2 separate regions of the Homo sapiens genome follow, and region 1 is linked to region 2. The links are contacts of gene promoters, found by promoter capture Hi-C in blood cells and fetal thymus (Javierre and others, 2016). All regions are on one chromosome and are shown on one strand. The core of a region is centred on a gene start or on the middle of the fragment in contact, and the rest is flanking DNA. Distances in the headings are between cores, read along the strand shown. Region 1 has its middle 18 kb from the start of CLEC2D. Region 2 holds the start of CLEC12A-AS1 (CLEC12A antisense RNA 1).

Region 1 (6,869 bases), core at 2,024-4,523, 300 kb before region 2:
TCCTCCCACCTTTCTTGGGGAAACTTGTTTTTAAGGGATGCCACTGTTTTTGTAACATGTTGCTCCTAGCTCTTAGCATTCATGGTACTGTTGTAACCGTCCAGTGGGTTCACTTTGTCTGCTAGATAGAGCCGATTTATCAAGACGGGGATTACAATGGAGAAAGAGTAATTCACGCAGAGCCGGCTTTGCAGGTGATGGGAGTTTTATTATTACTCAAATCGGTCTTCTTAAATTTGTGTCCCGGAGCAGTACGTTCTAACATTTTTTAGATGTTACAAATGTAACTTTTGGCTAAGTTACATTCCTACTAAGTTATATTCTTACTAACTAAGCCAAATGTTATATTCTAAAGAATGTTTACAGAACCGAAACTAAATATTTGTTACCTGGTACAGTTGTGAAACTTGTTTTTTAAAATGCATCCTGTGATTTAAGTTTTTCAGATCCTGAAACTGAGTTAAAATTTGATCAGTAATAATGCTTTATTTCTCTGTTCTTCTGAGAGATAATTCCTAATGTTGTTTTTCCAACTAGAAGTCTGAAGAGTTATTGTGTTCAGTGTGTACCTTAAGAGTGGTATGAATTTGCGGGAGTCAGGACACACTGTAAGAAAGGTAGAAGAGAAATAAGTGAGCAAGAGAGAAGTGGAACAAGATGCATGTGGGAATATTGCTGCAGGACTTTTCCTTATTTCAGCTAAAAATGGGATTCTTTGTCCCACGGCCACGGAAATTCAGGCTCGCAGATGGTTTAAAGGGTGTGTGAAGCAGAGTTTTATTGGGTGAAAAAGGGAAAAAAAGGGGGAAACAGGTACTCTTGCAGGGCCAGAGTCCTTCCGCCGGAGCGCTTCCCACCTGACAGTTTGAATCCCAGGTTCTACAAATGAAAAACTGGGGCCAGGCTCAGGCTTCTCTCTGCTGCAAACCTTGTGAACTTCCCAAGGCTCCACCTCAGTGGGCAGGCTAATTGGAGTTTCTCCAGGGACCCCTTCCCACCTGGCTGTCTCAGTATTAGTAGGAGGGGCTAGAGATGTAAAAAAGAAGAAGAGAAAGCAGGCACATTTAGAAGATTATTAAGAGAGGCAAATGGGAGATTTGGGGGAAGTTTTAAGGGGAGAGTTACACATTACCCTAGTAGCAATGAAAAAGAATTACGGAAGTCTTAGTATTCTGAACCTTTAAGACAATTTTGCGTTAGTGTAGAACCAGAAAGAATAAAGGTTGATATTTTTATATGAGCCAAAATCCAAACGATATTTACTGCTTAAGATCATCCAATCTTACCCATCTTTCCCCCTGTCTAGAATTTAAGCTGAAGCTCCCTGTTATTCTTGTAGATGTATATTAAACGGACGAAAGTTGGCAGGGACTTTTAAAGTATTATAATTTATATTCAGTAAAATTCACTCTTTTGGTGTAGATTTCTATGGTAAACATATATACTCATGTTACTACCATAAAAGTCAAGATATAGAGCCATACCCACCCACTCGAAATTCCCTCATGTCCCTTTGTAGAATGTCTCTTCCTCTACCGCTAGCCCTTGGCAACCACTCATCTGTTTTCTGATCTTGCACTTTTGCTTTTCCAGAATGTCACATCGATGGAATCTTGCAGTAGGTAAATGTAGAATCTGACTTCATTCACTTAGCAATAATGCATTTTCAAGTCATCTGTATTATAGTATGTATCATTTGTCAAAGAAAAACAAGTCTGGACTTAGGGAGAAACTTTATTCAAAAGGACTGTTGCAATAGGAATAACACTGATTTCAAAAATATGTTAGGCCAGGTGCGGTGGCTTATGCCTATAATCCCAGCAATTTGGGAGGCTGAGGCGGGTGGATCACGAGGTCAGGAGATTGAGACCATCCTGGCTAACCTGCTGAAACCCCGTCTCTACTAAACAAAATACAAAAAATTAGCCGGGCATGGTGGTGGGCATCTGTGGTCCCAGCTACTCGGGAGGCTGAGGCAGGAGAATGGCATGAACCCGGGAGGTGGAAGCTTACAGTGGGCCGAGATCATGCTCCTGCACTCCAGCGTGGGCGACAGAGACTCTGTCTTAAAAAAAAAAAAAAAGTTAGTGGTGTGGGAGAGAGCAGGCAAAGTCTAGGCGTTTCAGCAGGAAATGGTGCAATGTGGTCTGTGGTCAGGTTAAGGCAGGATGTTTTTTGCAAGTCTGTGCTTTGAGGCATTTAGGCAAACTTGCGGGCAAACACGTGTAGGGCCTGTGGGGAGGAGAAAAACCTGACAAAAGTTTGGCCAGCTAACACACAGTAAGAAATTGACAATTGTGAATGTGTGATCGAGTTTTTTCTTTTATTAGGGCTGAGGAATAGTTGTTTACCTCTTCAGCAGCTGAAGCATATTTGAGTTGTTGCTAGTTTTTTGTGATAATGAATAAACCTGGTGTAAAATATTCCTTACAGGTTTTTGGGTAAACACAAGTTTTCACTTCCCTTGTTTAAATACCTAGGGATAGGATGGCTAGGGCATGTGGTGAATTTACATTTACCATAACAAACTGCTTAACTGTTTTCCAAAATGCCCATAACATTTTGCATTTCCAGTGATGATGCATGAAAATTCCAGTTGCATCCTGTCCATTCTCTCACTGCTATAAAGAAATAGCCTGAGACTGAGTAATTTGTAAAGAAAAGAGGTTTAATTGGCTGACCATTCCACAGGCTGGCCAGGAAGCATGATTCTGGCATCTGCTCAGCTTCTGGGGATGCCTCAGGAAACTTACAATTCATGGCAGAAGGCAAAGGGGGAGTCCATACTTCACTTGGCCAGAGCAGGAGGAAGAGAGGAAGTGAGGGAGGGCACCACACAGTTTTCAACCGCCAGATCTCACGAGAACTCACTCTTATCATGACACAGTGCCAAGGGGGAAATCTGCCCCCATGATCCAATCTCCTTCCACCAGACCCCACCTCCAACGCTGGAGATTACAATTCAACATAAGATTTGGGTGGGGACAAAGATCCAAACCATATCACATCCCTTCCTCACCAGCAGTTGTTTCTTTTTCTGTTTTGTTTGCCACTCTAATAACCATGTAGTAGTCACTCATGGTTTTAATTTGTATTTCTCAAATGGCTGGTTATTTCAAGCATGTTTTTATGCACTTGTTTGCTATTCATATATCCTCTTTAATCAAGTATATCTCCAAATCATTGGCCCACTTTTTAATCTAGTTTTCGTTTTCTTATTGTTGAGTTTTGAGTTCTTAATATATTCTAGATACAAGTCGCTTTTTAGAGAGATGTTTTTCTGCCTTTGCTTGTCTTTTTATTCCCTTTTCAGGGTTTTTTTTCTAGCAGAGAGTTTTAATTACGTTAAAGTTCAATTTATCAATTTTTAAAATATTGATAATGCTTTTGGTGTTGTATGTAAGAAATTTTTGCCTAATTCAAGTTCACAAAAATGTAATTTTCCTCTTCTAATAGTTTTAGGGTTTGAGGCTTTATATATGAGTCTAAAATTTATTTTGAGTTAATTTTCTTATAAGGTATTAGGTGTGAGCTGAGGTTCACTGTTTTGCATTAGGACACTCAATTGTTCCAGCACTACATGTTCAGAAAATATTACCCCTTACCTACCTGATTACTTTCCACGTCTGTCAAATGTCAATTGATGATACACGTTTAGATTTGTTTCTGAAACCTTTTTTCTGTTCCATTGATTTATGTGTCTGTTCTTTTGTCAATATCATACTGTCTTTGTTTCTATTACTTTGTAAATTACGAAAGCAGGTTCCCTGATTTCCAAATTTGGCCATTTTTTTTTCCTTCAAAATTGTTTGGCTATTCTAGTTCTTTGCTTTTTCATATAATTTTAAAATTACCTTGCTTATTTCTACAAAAAATTCATACTGCAATGTTTATCAGTATTGCACTGAATCTCTAAACCTGTTTGGGTATAATTGACATCCAGCAATATTGCATATTCCAATCTATGAATATCTTATATCTCTCTGTTGATTCAAGTCTGCTTTGATTTCTTTGTCCCTTTGGTTTCCAGCTTTCATCATACTGATCCTAAACATATTTTGATATATTTATTTGATATCTTTCATGTTATTATAAATGATACTGTTTTTATATTTAAATTTCCACTTCATAATTATGAATATGGAAATATAAGTGATTTTTATATATGAACATAGGTAATCCTGTAGCTTTGCCAAATTCATTTATTCTCATAGCCATTTGGTAGATTCCTTAGAATTTTACATGCAGACAACTGTGTTGTCTGTGAATAGCAATGCTTTTATTTCTTTCCAATCTGTATGACATTTATTTCTTTTTTCTTGCCTTTTTGCCCCTAATAGGACATCCAGTAAAATGTTAAATTGGATTGGTGAGAGAGATCAGACATCCTTGCCTTGTTCTATGTCACTGGGGGAAAGCATTTATTCTTTCATCGTTAAGGTTGTTGCTAGTTGTAGTTTTTCTGTAGATGCCCTTTATCAGGTTGAAGAAAGTTCTTCAATTTCTAATTTGTTGAGTCTTACTATCGTGGATGAATATTAAGCTTTTCACATCCTCTTGCTGCATTTATTCAGATGCTCATATGTTGTCCCTTGTCTCATTCTGTCAATATGGTGAATTACATTGATTTATTTTCTGCTTCCCTTGTTGCTTCTAACCAGCTGCTTTACTATGGGGCTAAATCTGGATTGTGTATGTTTCTTTTTCATCCCAATTTCTACTCTTTTTCCAGTAACTGGAAGATTCCCTGGGGGTGGGGAGAATTCGATTTTTATCTCTAGCCCTCTTTGGGCCATTATTCTCATTTATGAACCAAGCCCTTTTGTGAAAGGAGTTGGCAGTAGGAGAATTGAAGTACATCTGATCTTAGTGTTGATTCTATGATAAATTTTTTCTCCCTACGATATTCCTGAGATTGAGATTCTGATGTTTCTATTTTACAGATAAAACTCTGCAAAGACAATGTCTAGCACTTATATCTCCAGTAACTCCTGTCAAGGTTTATTGTTGCTTGTTCATCATTGCAGTCCTGACTACAAGTGTGATTGCACTTTCTATTGTTTTGTCAGGTAAGTTACTTGTTCTCCAAACTGTACAATATTCTCCATATGTTTTTGTTGTCAATAAATATTTATTAAGCTCCATTATGTGCCTGTCACTGTGTGAAATGCTTGAATTACATCAGCAAACAAAATACACACAAAAGAATTCCTGCCCTTTGGAACTTATATTCCAGCAGAAAAACACAAGTAAAAATAAATAAGGGTGGAGGTATAACAGGTTGCAATAGGTTGACAAAACTAAGCCTTCTTAGGAAGGTGACATTTCAGCAACCTTTTGAAAGAGATGGAGGAACCATGTGAAGGAACCTATTCCAGGCAGAGAACAAGTAGACCAAAGCCTGAAGGAGGACTCTTCCTGGCTTATTTGAGGAAGAGCAAGGAGGCTGCTGTAGGTGAAGCAAAGTGAAGATGGAGAAGAAGAGTGATACCATGGGGAATCAGGAACGGAGGAACCTTGAGGGTCAGTTAAAGACTTTGGCTTTGACCTTCAGTGCAATAGGGAGACTAGATGAGGGAAGTTGTACGAGAGGAATGTCTTGATGTGACTTTCATTGTAGAATAATCATTTAATTGCTATATTGAGACTAGGTAGGGGAGGGTGGTCAGACTCTGGATATTTTGAAAGCTGAGCCAACAGTATTTTATGTCAAATTGGATAAAACGTCTCAGAGGAATGTCAAAGGTAAGCCTGTCTTCTTTTGAGCCTTGGCAAGAATGCATTTGCCGTCCATTGATATGAGAAAGGCTATGGGTATAGGAATTCCGCTTACGGAACTATTTCCTGACAAGTTCCTCTCAGAATTGTCATTTTTTATTAAAAATAAAGTAAGATCTCTACTTGAAATGTTTTCAGGCAAATCACCTGGCCTTAAGAGCTGGTATCTTCTACTTAAGCAGATTGAGAATGCACGAAAGTACAGAGAACTGTATACATAAAAAAATCATCTCTTGTATAGAGGTAATAGGTCCTCAGCATTGCTTTGTCAAGAGAAAGAAGGGCTAATATGAGGGAGGATATGGAAAAATCATCCGTATGACCCTGTGAAAGTACAGTACTATGGAAGTCGATGCTATAGAAATTGATTTCCTTGAAACTGTTAGTGTCAGTGTAAATTTCAGAAAGTCAAGGGTGCAGATACCCAGCTGGAAACCACCGGACTGACGATTGTTGTGCTTAGGATAAGGCACTTTGTGATGAGTTAGGAAAACAACAATCAGATATGTACACTTCAAAATTGACCTCAGGAAGGTAAGCAGAAAAATAGATAAAATGGGTGAGAAAATTTCTTTATTATGTTTCATTGTGATTGTCTCACTTTTAGCAAGAAAGGAAAAGCCAGTGGTAGAGTCATCTAAATACGCTGCTTGCCCAAAAAGCTGAATTAGATTTAGGAGTAAATGTTTTTATTTTTCTGAAGGCATAAGAAATTAGACATTGAGTCAAACGTTCTGTGTCTCATTAGAAGCCAGCCTTGCTCAGTTTGCAACTATGGAGGAACTGGTAAGAGATATTTTTGGATCATGTTTTCTGTTAAATACTTAGCCCCCTGAGGCAGGTCGGCTACATAGGGTTAAAGCTGAAATACTAAGAAGGATCCCATTCCAGGGGCATGAGATGTGTTTTCATGTCTAACATTTGTTGAGGGTGTGTTCTCTGCCTGGAACCCTGTGAGACATTTTAGATATATTTCCCCATGTAATGCTCATGGTGAGCTGGTAAGATGAGATGTATTGTTCTCATTCTATTAAGAAGTAAGGTAATTATATAATTTGTCATCTAGATTAAGACATATAGGGCATTAAAAG
Region 2 (4,887 bases), core at 2,371-4,870:
TTTTTCCTATTTATTTCATTAACCATTTCATAAGGAAAGGTTTCCTCTGACTCTTTAGAATGGACAGCTTCTTTTAAACCTTTAAATCATTGCATCTGCCTGTAATTATTTCCATTTTTCTAGCATTGGATTTTGAGATGAGTTACTTCAGAATGAGTATTTAAATGTTTTAGACAAAAGTAGATAAAAAAATCTGTATCATTGTCACATTTTTTGAGATTTAGAAGCCAACTTGAGTTGCAGTAACCAAAAATGTGGTCTGGCAAAGCCCACAGTCCCTGGTGGGTTACGATCTGAAGATGGTCTGAAGCTGAGTTGGTTGTCTGGCAGCATTCCCTTGACTGGCCTCACTTCCAGGCACTCCTGCACAGAGCTGTGGGGTGTTCATTCCCCATCAAATCTCCTGTTGCCCTGAAAAATTTAAAGAGGCAGAGAAAGTGACAACTAGACCTAGCATTTTGGTGTATAAGTGCATATATTTCAGTTTTTTTGTTATTGTTGTTACGGCAGTCTGAATTTAGAACTTTGTGCTAACAACAGGTTACAGCAACCCTAGAGTCCATCAATGGGTGGAATAAAAATATGTCATATATACATACAATGGAATATTATTCAGCCTTAAAAAGGAAGGACATTCTGACACAAGCTACAACATAAATAACCATCGAAGGCATTATGAAGCTTCTTTTACTAGCAAAGTTACTTTCCAGAAACCTTAGTAGCTGCGATCTTGCTTCAGTCCATAAGCTTTCTGTGACTTGACTTAGAGTAGCAGGCAATTAGTCCATAAAAGAAACATAATGAATATCCTGATGCCTCTCAACCATCTGGAAAATATTAACCGGGCACCGAAATACTTGATAAATGCTGTGAAAAACATGGGATTGGGTGGTGAATAGGTTGACTGACAAGGTATGTAGAAGAGTGGGGAGAGTGTACTTTAGGGTGGGTGGTGAGACTAAGTCACTCTTCTCATTAAAAGAATGTGTGCTGCCTGTACAAATTTGTCTTCATCTTTTTCAGCCAATCCACTCCAATGGGCTTATGGATATGCTGGCCATATTAACAAATTAAGACACAAGATTTCCAGTTAAATTTGAATTTCAATCGACCACAGATAATTGCAGAGACAGCAAATACAAATATTGATGAGCAATACTTACATTAAAAATAAGTCATTTTTACCTGAAATTCAAATTCTGTTTTCCCACACATAGCTACATTATTTCCTGCACGTAGCTACATCCCTCCTCTGCTATGTAAACCCCCAATTTCAGTCACTTGGGGAGATGAATTTGAGACTGATCTGCAGTTCTTCTCAGCTGCAGCAACTGAATAAAGTCATCTCCCCTGGAAATACTTGCCTCAGTGATTGGCATTCTGTGCAATGAGTAACGGGACCTAGGCTGAACCTCTGGCATTTCAGTAACAGATTTTGGTTCCCTCATCAGGAAGACATTGCTCTTGGCTTGGCTGTCACCAGTTGGGAGAATTTCCGCAACCCTAAGCAGCAGCCTATGTGTTTTAGGCAGGATGTGGGTTTTAGTCTTTCTATTTAGCATTGCTGCTGCCAGCCCCAACCACATTTCTGATTGCCTAGGAAGAACAGCCTTTCAAATTTGACTTCTGCATGTGGATAGGTGAGTGTCTTTTGTGGATACCGACAGTGGGAATGGCTCCTCTCAATTTGAGAAATTCTGAAGGAATTTCCATTGGCAAGTTCAGCAAGGCCAACTGACGGAGAGAGGAAGCACCCTGACTGTTCCAGTTCAGACACTCTTGGGGCTTGTTAGTAATTGAGTATGTGTCTGGATAAGTGAGTGTCATTTGTGGGTCCAGACAGCAGGATCTGCTTTTCTCAATTTGAGAAATTCCGAAGGAATCTCCATTTGCAGATTGAACTAGCCCAACAAACAGGGAGAAAGCAACTCAACTGTTTCAGTTTGGACTCTCTTGGGACTTGCTTATTGTTGCAGCAGTTAGATTGTATTCTGGTGGTTGTTTGTGTGTTGATGTAGTTGTGGGAGATCAGGGTTTGATCTGAGTGCAGACCGCTTGGGTGTATTCTTCAGGGTTGGTCTGCATGTGGCTGTGGGCCAGTGGAGTGAGGGAACATCTCTACCCGTATCACGCTGAACATGCCCAATCTCATCTGATCTCAGACAGTCTTTGAATTGTAGCACTGCCTTATATTTGGATTTATTTTGCTGTTGAATGTGAATATGGGATGGAAGTCCATGTCTCCAGGCTTCTATGCTGCTGCTCTAAGGACAGGCAGGCCTGATTAGTATGTGCTGCTGTTTGGCTACAGAGTTCTTTGGAGTCTGGAGAGATTTGGCCTTTAAAAATCAAACTGTCAGACCCTGTCTCAAGGAAAAAAAAAAAAACAGGATGTGAGCGCTCTCCCTCTCCCTCTCCCTCTCCCTCTCCGTCTCCCTCTCCCTCTCCCTCTCCGTCTCCCTCTCCCTCTCCCTCTCCGTCTCCCTCTCCCTCTCCCCACGGTCTCCCTCTCATGTGGAGCCGAAGCTGGACTGTACTGCTGCCATCTCGGCTCACTGCAACCTCCCTGCCTGATTCTCCTGCCTCAGCCTGCCGAGTGCCTGCGATTGCAGGCACGCACCACCACGCCTGACTGGTTTTGGTGGAGACGGGGTTTCGCTGTGTTGGCCGGGCCGGTCTCCAGCCCCTAACCGCGAGTGATCCGCCAGCCTTGGCCTCCCGAGGTGCCGGGATTGCAGACGGAGTCTCGTTCACTCAGTGCTCAATGGTGCCCAGGCTGGAGTGCAGTGGCGTGATCTCGGCTCACTACAACCTACACCTCCCAGCAACCTGCCTTGGCCTCCCAAAGTGCCGAGATTGCAGCCTCTGCCCGGCCGCCACCCCGTCTGGGAAGTGAGGAGTGTCTCCGCCTGGCCACCCATCGTCTGGGATGTGAGGAGCCCCTCTGCCTGGCTGCCCAGTCTGGAAAGTGAGGAGCGTCTCCGCCCGGCCGCCATCCCATCTAGGAAGTGAGGAGCGCCTCTTCCCAGCCGCCATCACATCTAGGAAGTGAGGAGCGTCTCTGCCCGGCCGCCCATCGTCTGAGATGTGGGGAGCGCCTCTGCCCCGCCGCCCCATCTGGGATGTGAGGAGCGCCTCTGCCCGGCCGAGACCCCGTCTGGGAGGTGAGGAGCGTCTCTGCCCGGCCGCCCCGTCTGAGAAGTGAGGAGACCCTCTGCCTGGCAACCACCCCGTCTGAGAAGTGAGGAGCCCCTCCGCCCGGCAGCCGCCCCGTCTGAGAAGTGAGGAGCCTCTCCGCCCGGCAGCCACCCCATCTGGGAAGTGAGGAGCGTCTCCGCCCAGCAGCCACCCCGTCCGGGAGGGAGGTGGGGGGGGTTAGCCCTCCGCCCGGCCAGCCGCCCCATCCGGGAGGGAGGTGGGGGGTCAGCCCCCCGCCTGGCCAGCCATGCCGTCCGGGAGGGAGGTGGGGGGGTCAGCCCCCTGCCCGGCCAGCCGCCCCGTCCAGGAGGTGAGGGGCGCCTCTGCCCGCCCCCCCCTACTGGGAAGTGAGGAGCCCCTCAGCCCGGCCAGCCACCCCGTCTGGGACGGAGATGGGGGGTCAGCCCCCCCGCCCAGCCAGCTGCCCCGTCCGGGAGGGAGGTGGGGGGGTCAGCCCCCCGCCTGGCCAGCCGCCCCGTCCGGGAGGGAGGTGGGGGGGTCAGCCCCCCGCCTGGCCAGCCGCCCCGTCCGGGAGGGAGGTGGGGGGGGTCAGCCCCCCCGCCCAGCCAGCCGCCCCGTCCGGGAGGTGAGGGGCGCCTCTGCCCGGCCGCCCCCTACTGGGAAGTGAGGAGCCCCTCTGCCTGGCCAGCCGCCCCGTCCGGGAGGGAGGTGGGGGGGTCAGCCCCCTGCCCGGCCAGCCGCCCCGTCCGGGAGGTGAGGGGCGCCTCTGCCCGGCCGCCCCTACTGGGAAGTGAGGAGCCCCTCTGCCCGGCCACCACCCCGTCTGGGAGGTGTGCCCAGCAGCTCATTGAGAACGGGCCAGGATGACAATGGCGGCTTTGTGGAATAGAAAGGCGGGAAAGGTGGGGAAAAGATTGAGAAATGGGATGGTTGCCGTGTCTGTGTAGAAAGAAGTAGACATGGGAGACTTTTCATTTTGTTCTGCACTAAGAAAGATTCTTCTGCCTTGGGATCCTGTTGATCTGTGACCTTACCCCCAACCCTGTGCTCTCTGAAACATGTGCTGTGTCCACTCAGGGTTAAATGGATTAAGGGCGGTGCAAGATGTGCTTTGTTAAACAGATGCTTGAAGGCAGCATGCTCGTTAAGAGTCATCACCAATCCCTAATCTCAAGTAATCAGGGACACAAACACTGCGGAAGGCCGCAGGGTCCTCTGCCTAGGAAAACCAGAGACCTTTGTTCACTTGTTTATCTGCTGACCTTCCCTCCACTATTGTCCCATGACCCTGCCAAATCCCCTCTGTGAGAAACACCCAAGAATTATCAATAAAAAAAAAAAAAAAAAAAAAAAAAAAATCAAACTGTCAGCTGGGCGCAAGAAACTGAGGTGGGCAGATACTTGAGCCCAGGAGTTCGAGACCAGCCTGGGCAACATGGTGAAACCCTGTCTCTACAAAAAATACAAATATTAGCTGGGTGTAATGGTGCATACCTGTAGTCCCAGCTACTCAGGAGGCTGAGGTGGGAGGATTACCTGAGCCTGGGAGGTTGAGGCTGCAGTGAGCCTTGATCACACCACTGCACTTCCAGCCTGGGTGACGGAGATCCTGTCTCAAAAAAAAAAATAATCAAACTATCATGGAAACTGCTTTATTCAAAATTTTGTTTCACAACCTTTATTGGATTACCTATCAGAACAAATAAAGTTCAACCATGTGAACATGTT

The links. Contacts are between HindIII fragments. The CHiCAGO score rates a contact against its expected background, and 5 or more counts as called.
Region 1: a contact is called between a fragment that was not itself captured here and the fragment with the promoter of CLEC12A-AS1 in region 2, in 1 of 17 cell types (neutrophils). The highest score is 5.3, in neutrophils.

Annotation. Positions count from the first base shown.
Region 1 is chr12:9,648,740-9,655,608 of GRCh38, forward strand. It overlaps the pseudogene LOC374443. Among named protein-coding and RNA genes, the nearest start is that of CLEC2D, 18 kb to the right of the region's middle. RefSeq lists enhancers at 1-62, 1,962-2,141 and a silencer at 1,137-1,186. The HindIII fragment of the contact is 2,535 bases long and covers 2,007-4,541 here.
Region 2 is chr12:9,949,717-9,954,603 of GRCh38, forward strand. It overlaps CLEC12A-AS1 (CLEC12A antisense RNA 1), which reads right to left and starts at 3,621. Exons shown (of 3, transcript NR_135047.1): 1 at 2,834-3,621; 2 at 1,186-2,363; 3 at 1-411. LOC124902874 (a long non-coding RNA gene) reads left to right here and starts at 1,941. Exons shown (of 2, transcript XR_007063207.1): 1 at 1,941-3,321. It also overlaps a transcript of CLEC12A not described here. The HindIII fragment of the contact is 17,088 bases long and covers 746-4,887 here.